2 separate regions of the Homo sapiens genome follow, and region 2 is linked to region 1. The links are contacts of gene promoters, found by promoter capture Hi-C in human tissues and cell types (Jung and others, 2019). All regions are on one chromosome and are shown on one strand. The core of a region is centred on a gene start or on the middle of the fragment in contact, and the rest is flanking DNA. Distances in the headings are between cores, read along the strand shown. Region 1 holds the start of RNF148 (ring finger protein 148). Region 2 overlaps CADPS2 (calcium dependent secretion activator 2).

Region 1 (6,273 bases), core at 362-2,861:
ACCATCATTCTCAGCGAACTATCGCAAGGACAAAAAACCAAACACCGCATGTTCTCACTCATAGGTGGGAATTGAACAATGAGAACACATGGACACAGGAAGGGGAACGTCACACACCGGGGCCTGTTGTGGGGTGGGGGAAGCGGGGAGGGATAGCATTTGGAGATATACCTAATGTTAAATGACGAGTTACTGGGTGCAGCACACCAACATGGCACATGTATACATATGTAACTAACCTGCACGTTGTGCCCATGTACCCTAAAACTTAAAGTATAATAAAAAATAAATAAATAAAATAAAATTCACCTAAAAAAACAATTAAAACTGATTAGAAAGACAAGAAGTTCAAATAGCTGGGCATGATAAGGAGTTTTATTTTTAAAACACAAATTTCACCCTTGTTCATACTTGGGTAGAGAAGCTGAAATTTTCTCTCTACATAAAGTACAATAAGACAATTTATCTAATCTTTGTATTTGGAAAGATCTGGTTACATCTTCAGAAAATTCTCCAGATTTCTTAAGTTTTCAGGATGTCACACTTGCACATGGGACATGTCCTATGGGCTAAAAGCCAGGGGTCAATGCATGCCTTATGGAAAAAATGTTTGCAAGTTAAAATGCGTACTACATCTTGGGGTTTGTATGTGTCAAAGCAAACAACACAGTTGTCTTCATTTAGGTCTAATTCCTCATCCCCTTCTTTGAGAACTCGCAGTTGAAGCTGGTCAATAGCTTTCTTCACATCTGTCTTTATTTGACTTCGCCTCCTGGTGAAAGAATTGGGCACTCTAGGTGTAAGTCTCCAGACGCAATCTAAGTAAAAGTAGGCAATTGTGGCAGCCAGGAAGGTAAATAGATACATGATGTAATGGCTCACCCACTGCATGTGCATTCTCCCCACTTCAATGATGACTGTCACATAGACTCCTTTCTGAATCGAGTGCAAAATTTCCATGCCTTTCAGGTTGCTTATCATCACCGCGACTATATTTTCCGTCCCCTGGTGAGACATGGGAAATACTTTACTGCCCGTACCTTGATAGTTGTAGATGATCACCCCATTTGCTCCCTTCTCTGCTGCCACGTTGATTTTATGTGTAAAAGTACAGCCTCCACGTTCGATGAGGGCCAGCCATGAGTCTGCCTGTTTGGGCCTGCTGAAATTGGTCAAAGGATGACAGGCATTCTGATTCCATCCTTCAGGAAGTGCCACCACACCAGACACCCTTTCCAGAGGAGAATGATTCCCGAACACTCCACTCTCTCCTAATTCCGATGTGATCTCATTTCCAACCTGAAATGTTATATTCAGGTGAGCTGTCCAAATGGCTTTTCCGTTTGAGTCAGGAAAGCTAAGTAGTAGAAAGATACTAAGCCTCAAAAGTCCAGATGAAACAGAACTATGCGTCGAAGGGGTAATTCTAAGGAAGCTCATGCCTCCATTTGTCTATTAAGAGACAAACATGAGAAAACAAAACAACATCAGTTGTAGAAGAACATAAAGAAGATAGCTTGTTGGCGGCAGATTACTAAAGCACATAAATGGAAAAGGTCTCCCTGGATCAAAGCTATCTTGCTCCTTCCAGTATTTTAATATTTAGTAGATTATCTTTCTCATAATGAAACAAAATAACAAGACTTGTGATTGGTACCATGTGATTTCAAGAAAATTATGACATCCAAATGGGGAAATTATGACATCAGAGGTAGTTAAACCAATCCAAGAGTTTATATTAGTGCATTGCATCCTGAAATCCTATTGGCCAAAAAGCTAAGCAATGAGTCAAGATACATAACAATTTGAATAGGCTGTAAAGCAATAAATAAACTGGTAAGAATTTTTTAAAGCCTTGGGTTTCTTCCTTAGTTCTGGAGAGACTGAAAATCTACCCAGCCATATAATGTTTTTTCTAGCTGTAAGGCAAAGGCAAAGATAAAAATAATTCATGTATTAGTGCATGTACCTGGGCCAGTTGCCAGTTTTCATGCATGGTTCAACACTACCCAATATGGCATTCTGTGGGATGGTTCAACACTACCGAATATGGCATTCTGTGGGATGGTTCAACACTACCCAGTATGGCATTCTGTGGGAAGTAGGAGCAAACCATTCCCACCCACTTCCCACATTAAATGCCTATCCCACACCTAAAGATCCAACACTAAGAAAACAGTGTAAACTCTTATTGTTAGCCTAATACAGTCCCATCTTCTGGTAAGAACCTACTATGTGCTGGCAAATACTGAGAGTGGACATATATTGGAGAAGAAAATAGAGACGGCCCTACTCTTGTAGAGGCTAAGGATTTTGGATGATGTCCCAAGGACAAGAGAAACACACTGTAGGGTTCTAAGCCAGGGAGGTGACAAATGTGTTTCAAAATGTTCACTTTGGTTGCTTTATGGGGAAAATGTATTGGAGAGGGAGAATAACAAGAGAATGAGCTTAGGCAAAAGAAGATAGTGGCTTGGACTCAAAGTAGCAGCATAGATGTAGAGACACAGACAAAGGCTGAATAACAGATTTAGTAACTGGAAGGACAGTAGTGGGAAGAGGAAAGGATGGCCACAATGATAAAAAATCACTACATGATTTTTGCAAATTACAGAATCTTTACGGCTTTAAAGATGCCTTATTGTTTAGTTTTATCTTAAATCTTTATCTAAAGTCTGTTTCAAGGAGCCAATAAATTGGCAACACCCACTCAAAAATTTATTTTCTATCATGTATAGGTTATCTTCTATGTGCTCAGCATGCCACAAAGTCCTAGGGATAGAAAAAGAAAAGACCTTATTTCCTAGTGTGAAAAATGGACATGAACATTTAATCATAGACATGATAGAGTTTTCTCATTTGGACAAAAGCATTTATTGTATTCCCTGGCCTATTTTAGTTAATATTTGTTAGTATTCCCTGTATTTTAGTTAATATTTGCTTTTTTAAAAAAAAACTCTAGGAAACAGTCTACTTGTCCCATTCATGCAATTCTGTTGAAGCATGATTCAGGTAACACCTGAACTGTCCTTACAGGTAGACTTTTTTTTTTTCATGTTCAAATGGAGTGAATTCCTGGCTGATTCTATTAACAGTGACAAATTGAAGCCTCATTAAGAAGACGGTTTAACATCATCATATTAGAGGTAATTTGTTAAATCTGTGATTATTTAACCTTTGGAAGTAGGATTACAAAATAATATAACTCTGACTTTTTATTTTGCAGATTTTTTGTGGGTGAAGTGTTTAACCTGTAACTATATTTTGCTTCAAAACATATCTCACATCAAAAGGTTCTCTGTATGGTTGAAAGGACCAATTTGAGGAACTTAGCTCATTCATTCTATTTTTCTCATTATAATATAAAGTGGTTAAGGCAATGATAGAACTGCCCTCTCTTCTGCCCTCGTCTTACAACAAAATAGACCTATAAGAAACAATCATCTATCTCTTAAAAAGTGGTTTTCAACTTGGGGGCAATTTTGCCTCTCAGGGGACATCTGGCTGCTTCTGCAGACATTTTTTGATTGTCACAATTAGAGAGTGCTACCAGCATCTAGCGAGTACACACCAGCGTTGCCACTAAAACATCTGAAAATGCACATAGTAGCTCCACATAATAAGAAATTATGTGGTCCAAAATATCAATAGTAAGGTTAAGAAACCCTAATCTAATGAAACAGCCTGAGGAGAGAAGCATCCCAAAACTCTCCCAACCCCGATGGGTGGTCAGGTATAAATTCTCGACACAAAATAAGCTTTTATAATTGACAATGCTTCCATCAAGGATGAGGCCCTCAATGCAACTTAATTTCTCTAGTTTTCCCTGGAATAGAAACAGGAGAGATCTGTACAAGTTACCTTTTAGTCCATTAAGTATCATGACAAATTGCATATATTTTATCAGAATGAGGTCTAAGAGTCTTCCTGGAACCGCATGTGACTGGGAGACAGAGAGAGAGACTGGATGATTGAGGCTACTGTAATCTGTTCCTTTTAGATCATTTATTCAATACATGGACATTCTTTCTAACAGCCAAATATTGAAGAGTTTTTCATTCTGTTGAATTTTGCAGGTAGGTTACAGAGAATTGAAATATATTAGTAGAGATAATATATAATATGTAATATAATATTATATATTATCTATATTATATATTATATATATTTATATTATATATTATCTATATTATATATTATCTATATTTATATTGTGTATTATCTATATTATATATTATATATATTTATATTATATATTATCTATATTATATATTATATAATATATTTTATATATTATATAACATTTATATATATTATATATGATATATAATATATTATATAATATATCTCATATATAATATATTATATAATATATCACATATTATATATAATATATCATATATTATATAATATATCATATATTATATAATATATAATATATATAATATATAATATATGATATATTATATAATATATATCATATATAATATAATATATATGATATATAATAATATATATTTATATATAATATATATTATATAACATATTATACATATTATATATAATATAATATAATAAATATAATATAATATATAATATATTATATAATATAATATATAATATATTATATAATATAATATATAATATATATATAATATAATATAATATATAATATTATATATTATATAATATTTATATATATTATATATTATATAAATATATATTATATATTCAAGGATTTATATATTCAAGGAATATATATATGTTTATATATTCAAGGAATATATATATATGCTTATATATTCAAGGAATATATATATATGCTTATATATTCAAGGAATATATATATGCTTATATATTCAAGGAATACATATATATGCTTATATATTCAAGGAATACATATATGCTTATATATTCAAGGAATACATATATGCTTATATATTCAAGGAATATATATATGTTTATATATTCAAGGAATATATATATGCTTATATATTCAAGGAATATATATATATGCTTATATATTCAAGGAATATATATATATGCTTATATATTCAAGGAATATATATATATGCTTATATATTCAAGGAATATATATATATGCTTATATATTCAAGGAATATATATATATGCTTATATATTCAAGGAATATATATATGTTTATATATTCCTTTTGTAGGCAGGCTAAAGAGAACTGAAACATATTACTAGGGTTGGTTCAACTGGTTCAAAAAGTCATTCTACCTAACTCTTGTTAACAGCGAATATGTATATATATATATATCACACACACTTAAGAGATAGGTTGTGTGTGTGTGTATATATATATAGTTACATGCTCTTAACAAGAGATAGGTAGAACATACATATATATATTCTTTTATATATACATATTCCTTGCTCATATATATGTATATATACTTATATAAGAGCAAGGAATATATATATATATAAAATGTATGTGTGTGTGTGTACATACATATATATATACACACACACACATATATATATATGTATGTACACACACACACACATTTTTTTTTTCCAGAAACTTACCAGACTTCCCTCAATGTCTCTTTGGCTAGAATTGCTTCACAAACCCATGCCTAATGAAATCCTTGGAAACCGGAGTGGAATCATCATGATTATCTTAGGTTAATCATGATTTATCCTGTTGTAGAGAGCTCTTTCCCTGGCTGAGCACATGGCCAGAGGAAGGGTGAAGATTTGAATGCTGTGTTACTAAGGGGAAAGACATGAACCAGAAGGTAAGCAGGCAGGCACAATGGCAGTTACAGGCTCTAAATTCCTGAAGTATCCCCAAAGGAATAATACTTAACCATTAACCGCAACAAACATGTAATATGCACTGTACACAAGGCACTGACATGAGCCAGAGTCTCTGTTAATGGGGACACAACATGGCTCTGACCTTAAGGAGGGCATCATCTAGGCAGAATAAAAGAGTTACATGCAAGTTGGATGTATATATGCATGTATCCTATAACTTCCAGGCGCCAATTAAATTTTTTAGAAGGTTATAACTATTATTAAGAGAGAAAAAATCAACTAACTGACCTCTACCCCTCTGCTATTCTTTGATCTCTATGGGTAAGAGTGCTCACACTTCCAGAAATCTCTACTCCAATAAAGCAAAACAGATAAATACAATCACATTGCACTGCTCAGATAGCATCTTTAAGATGAAAGGAAAACCAATAAACTACCTCACAAGTGTCAGTATCCAGAGCTATAATATCATGAGAGCTCTCT
Region 2 (6,112 bases), core at 681-3,180, 35 kb after region 1:
AACCTCTGATGCATACCATCACTATTACAAATCCAATCAGTTAACAGTACATCCAATTACTTAATATTTTTACACAAAAATATTCTTGCCTCAGGTAAGTTCAGACCCATTGTATCTCCACATTTTCCCTTGTTTATTAGTCTAATATATATTCGCATATTATGCTTCTTCAGCTGAAAGGTGTTGAGTACCTGCACAATGAAAGGAATCCATTCCCTCAAATGACTCTGAATTGCTTATGCAAAAAGTGAATTCTCTAAACTAACAGCTAGTGGCAACTCACTGAAGCAGTTAATGACCATGTGTGAAAACTGGTGCTCATAGGAAATCCATAGAGAAACTCCTATGAGTCACAAGCTAGAATCAGAAGAAACAGCAGAATGGTATTGGTAGTATTATTTCTTTAGGAAGCAAAGAGAATTCAATTCATCCTCTTGAAATTAGTTACTAGCTTTAATTATTATAAAGCTTAGGGAACAAAATTGCATAAGATAGCAATTTACTATTGAAATCCAGATTTAAAAGGATAATTTAGACATGTGGACCTAAAGATAGCTATAGTCAGCTGTATCAATCACTGCCAGAAGATTTTTCTAAATAGTTTACTTCTCCTCAAAAGATGTGACTAATTTCGATTCTGTTTATCTCTCAAAACCAGGCTGTGGAATTAGAGCTTTTAAATTGCTAAATAGAACTGACAATGCTTTCAAAAAGGTTGCAAATTCACAGCCTTCCTGTCAGACCAGCAAGCTTCTTTAAAATGAGAAACCCATAAAAATAATAAAACTCCTTTTAAAATGCATCGGAAAGCCAAAAACAAAGCTCTTCAAACTTACCTCATAATAACTCCGAACTGCGTTGCAAAATGCTTCGTCAGCTACAATTTGGGTTTCCCCATTGAGGAAGGCCTGGAACCGTTCTTTCAGTAACTGCAACTGTTGTTTGTTAAGCTACAAGAAAAAGAGAAAATAAGCAGATAAATTGGCCAGTACATGAAAAAATAATGACTATTAAAAATCATATTTGCTGTATATTAGATTTCACATCTAGAATTAACTTTATAGTAAAGAAAAATAAAAGCTAAAACATCCTACTACTTGTTCTAATGGTTAGACCTCCATCTCAAGATGGAGTCAAGCTCTGTCTTCCAGGCTGGAGTGCAGTGGTGCGATCTCGGCTCACTGCAGCCTCCACCTCCCGGGTTCAAGCGATTCTCCTGCCTCAGACTCCTGAGTAACTGGGATTATGGTGCCTGCCATCACGCCTTGCTAATTTTTGTATTTTTAGTAGAGATGTTGGCCAGACTGGTCTCAAACTCCTAACCTCAAATGATCCGCCTGCCTTGGCCTCCCAGTGTGCTGGGATTACAGGCATGAGCCACTGCACCCGGACACTAATGGTTAGACTTTAAAACATTTCCAAGCCATTTCATGTACTCTGTAATCCTGATATGGAAGTGGAATCCAAATTTCTACCCCAAATTTCCAGAATCCTGATATGGAAGTGGAATCCAAATTTCTACCCCAAGTTTCTATCTCAAATTTCCAGAATTCTTGTGATTGCCACACCAGTTTCTTCATAGAGACAGGGAAAATATAAAATTTGGATAAGAAATTAACTAATAGTTAATATTAATAATATTATACAAAATCGCCAGCTGTTCTAAACAGAGAAAGTAGAGAGGAGCTTAGAGATGAGGGAGGGATGCCTTGGACAAGAGTTAATAGGAAGAAAGACTGAAAAGACAGAACGTACCCTAAGAAAGATCCCTCTGGAAAGAACAGCCATTGCATGCCAAAATTTGGATTCCATGAACAAACATACATCAATACCTGAGTTTAGATAATTGAAGGAATAATAAGGAGAAGACAAAGAAGACAAATCCAAAAGAGAACAGAGAGGCAGCAGGTAGGCAGTGAATGCGTCTTTGAGCACATAGGAGAAAATGCTCTGAACTGGGGAAGTTTACAACCAAGGGTCCTTACCCTGGGTCTAGCTTCCATAATTAATACAGAGGGTGAATTAGACATGAAATGTGACTTATCAATCATGTCCTCTAGTCATCAACTACAAGCAGGGTGAGCTACTTAATTTGTAGGGCCCAGTGCAAAATAAAAATAAGGAGCTTCTTAGTAAAAATATTAACAATTTCAAGACGGCAGGAACAGAGAGCATTAAGCTGAGTGCAGAGCCCTTCTAGGCACTAAGCCCTGCACAACTGTACACACAGGGGCATGTACTTCACTAGAAATAAGGCGTCTTAGATCTTAGGTAATGCAGAAGCTTTTTTTTTTTTTATGCTTAACTGGAGAGAAAACAACATAGTCTTGGAGATAAAACAACAAATTCCAAAATACATAAGAAACAGCAAAGGAATGATCCTTCCATTTCATTCGATCCTGATCAGACTTTATTAACAAACTCATTCCAGTTCTGGAATCTACAGAGGGATGTGAAGCATCTGGAAACATACTGAGGATAAAATGATTAAAGGATTAGGAAGACTAAACAAACTGGTATGACTTGGCTCAAAAAGAAGGCTGATGTGAATTAAGTATAAATCTGTTCAAAAGGCTTATTAAACTGCCATTCAAATAAAAGGAAGACAAGCTCTTTCAAAAAATGGGTTTTATTTAGGACTCTAACAAATAAGACAGTTTTTAAAGAAACTGTAGCTGGGAGTAACAGACTGATTTAAAAAAAATTAAAAAGTGTCCTATTGTACCCAGGGGGGGAAAAAAAAAAAAAAAAAACTTTTGCCATGGGCAGCGAAGAAAGAAGACCATTCCATCTCTTTACTAAGATTATCTCCTTCATTTTAGAGGAAGCTTAACCAAGCTGAGGTGCAGGAACATCATCATTATATTACAATCTCCATTTCTGTAATATTAAGAAAATGGAAGCAGGTACCTTTTGTATGGGTGCATACTAGCAACGCAAATTAAGTTCATGACTTTAGCTCTCTAGGCATGATTCACAAAAGGGACCAAATGGAAATGGGACAGCAATTGCTGAGAGTGAGGCGGCTGAAAGCACTATAGTTACTAAGCTCTGGGAATGCCAAGAAGAGCTTCTCCTTGCAAGCCAAGTAAAATAATGGCAATGGAAATGTATGCAAAGAATGACAATGAACTGAAGGAGACCTTACTGATCACTTGTGCCAACTCCTTTGCTTGATAAATAAAATACATACTCTTCAAAAACTAGAAACTGTGTATTTTTTCATTCAATTTTATTTTATCAAAGATATCTTTTTTGTTCTTTAAAACTCTTCTAAACTACAATATTTGCAATTTCTACATCATTAGTATTTAAGTTCCGCTATTATAACAGTGAGTTACTCTTTGGTAATTACAGTGTAGAAAATTCATGGATATGAATCAAGGAAAGGAGGTTTGGGCAAATCATCTTCTTGGAAGCTCCAACAAAGTTGATATAGTTCACAAAATAAGCCAGAGTCACCTGGCTAAATGTCAGGCTTCAATATTTTTATGAATAGAGGATACTGCAGTTACATTTAAGACATAAAATGGATCAAATATGACAATTACATACAAAAAGCAAATAAATGAATACTTTATTAGCATAAAGAAGAAGTCTACTTTTTCACATAGGCAAGATGGGGCAGGAAAAGAAAACTAAACTTAAAATCTAGCACTGGGGATAGCTGTCAGAAAGCAGTTTCCTAAAAGCTATTTGCATTATCAAGATAAACCAGACTGTATACCAAGAGATAGACCAGTGGAACAGATCGAAGAAACAGACCGAAATACAATCAGAAATGTACTATAAAACACCTATATAGCAACTCAAATCAGTAGTAATGGATGGTCTACTCAATGAATGGTGTTAAAATAATATAAAAGATGTTCCACCTCATGTCATCAGGGAAATGCAAATTAAAATAATGAGATTTACTACAAACCCATTAGAAAGAACAAAATCCAGAACACAGAAAACACTTGATGCTGGCAAGGATATAGACCACAGGATCTCTCATTCTTTGCTACTGGGAAAGCAAAATGGTATAGCTACTTTGTAAAACAGGTTGATGGTTTCTTACAAATTAATACACTTCTATCATATGATCCAGTAATCACAGTCCTTAGTACTTGCCCAAATGAGTTGGAAATTTATGTCCACACAAATACCTGTACACAAATGTTTAAAGTAGCTTTTTTCATAATTGCAAAATTCAGTAGATGAATGGATAAACTCGGGTACGTCCAACAATGGAATATTATTTAGCAAGTAATGAAATAAGCTATCAAGCCATGGAAAGACATGGAGGAACCTTAAATGCATATTACTATGTAAAAGCAGCCAATATAAAAAGGCTACATACTGTACGACTCCAACGATATGACATTCTGGACAAGGCAAAGCTATGGAGACAGTAAAAAGATCAGCTGTTGATAACAGTGTAGGCTATGCATGTGTGGGGGCAGGATATATATGGGAAATTTCTGTACCATCCACTCAAGCTCAATTTTGTTGTGAAATTAAAATTTCATAAAAAAATAAACTCTATTAAAAATACTGAAATGTCATCAATTTATTTGCATTAAAAATAAATTTTACATGGCAAAAAATACCATAGGCAAAATAGGAAAAGATTAACTAGAAAAAAAAATACTTGCAACTCATTACCCAAAGAGTTCATTTCTAACCATATAGAGAGTTCCTAGAAATTGATAAGAACATCATAAATAAACCAACAGAAAAATGGACAAAATTGATATGTTCAGATAAAAGACTTAATCCATGAAAACAAGCCTACATTCATAAAAAGAATACAAATTAAAACTGTATGAGAAGCCATTTTAAAGGTACATATCCTTGGAATCAGCAATTCCACTTTGAGATTGGATCAATACTACAGATACACCTGCACATGTGAGAAATGACATGTGTAGAAGGTTATTTACCACATAATTCTTAATTGCAAAAACAAGGAAAATAACCTAAATGTTCATATATAGGAGACTAAATTATGCCACATCTATAAACAGTGGTATACTATTCATTGCATTAAAAGAATGTAAACATTCTCTATGTACTGATTTTAAATATTTTAAAAATATCTTGGGGCAGAAAGCAAGTTATAGAACAGCAGTTAAAATAAGTCACCACTCACATAGAAAATGGATAAATAACATGTATGTGAATTTGCTTCCATATATAGACAGAAACTAGGGAAGAAGGATGGCTGTGGGAACTGGACAGACAGAAAATACAGGTAAAAGAGATTTTTCAACATTAGCACTTTATTCATTTTGAGTTTTCAAGTGAAACAACCCTTAAAATAAGCTATAACAGCAGCTTTGTACATCTTGAAACTCAAAACAGTTATGAAGCACTGTGAATACCTTAAATCCTATCCTACACGGAGACTGGACAGCACACCAATTTTTTCCATTCTTTCAGGTAAAAAAACTTACCTTGACTCTGTGTCTATTTTTTTAAATATTACAATCTTGAGGATTTCAAAAAGCTTAAACCAAGATCCTATTCAACATTCTAATCAACATATTAATCTGTACAAAATCTACAAAAGTAGACTTTCAGATTCCAGTTGGGCCTATTAATACACACACATATACATACATCCTTTTATTATCTCAGTGAATCCTATTCTAATTTGGAACAAGTATAAAAATTGAAATCAGTGTCCCTATGGCTTCCATACAACTCTAGTACTATACACTATCTAAGACAAAACAGACTGTTACTTTCATTCTTTAACACAGCAGTTCAAGACTTTGAGAACAAAATAAAATGATTATTTAAGAGTTTTCTCTTTTCTAGAACAAATTTTACCAGTTCGCTCCAATATCCTGGGTACTCTCCTAAGGATACATTCCAGTTTGCCATAAAATCACCATGTTAAATAAAACTAAGTATGATGGATACTTGGATGCAATGGATCATAAGTTCTGAGTTTACAGATGCGCAGAGTCGCTATTATAGCTTTTTTAAAAATCTAAACAAACTGGGCGCAGCGGCTCATGCCTGTAATCCCAGCATTTTGGGAGGTCAAGGCAGGCGGATCACCTGAGGTCAGGAGTTCGAGACCAGCGTGGCCAACGTGGTGAAACCCCGTCTCTACTAA

Evidence for each region. The method cuts DNA at HindIII sites, captures the fragments that hold promoters and counts their contacts. A contact is called where the count stands out against the background at its distance.
Region 2: a contact is called between a fragment that was not itself captured here and the fragment with the promoter of RNF148 in region 1, in 1 of the 25 tissues and cell types used here (hippocampus).

What each region holds. Positions count from the first base shown.
Region 1 is chr7:122,701,311-122,707,583 of GRCh38, forward strand. RNF148 (ring finger protein 148) reads right to left here and starts at 1,612. Exons shown (of 1, transcript NM_198085.2): 1 at 358-1,612. The coding sequence starts at 1,440. The coding sequence ends at 523. The region is part of intron 2 of CADPS2 (calcium dependent secretion activator 2); the gene reads right to left. It overlaps LOC124901738 (a long non-coding RNA gene), which reads left to right and starts at 1,782. Exons shown (of 3, transcript XR_007060503.1): 1 at 1,782-1,836; 2 at 3,069-3,146. The HindIII fragment of the contact is 4,808 bases long and covers 1,022-5,829 here.
Region 2 is chr7:122,736,119-122,742,230 of GRCh38, forward strand. It overlaps CADPS2 (calcium dependent secretion activator 2), which reads right to left. Exons shown (of 30, transcript NM_017954.11): 2 at 837-950. All of the region lies in intron 2 of LOC124901738 (a long non-coding RNA gene), which reads left to right. Among named protein-coding and RNA genes, the nearest start is that of RNF148, 36 kb to the left of the region's middle. The HindIII fragment of the contact is 4,462 bases long and covers 1-4,161 here.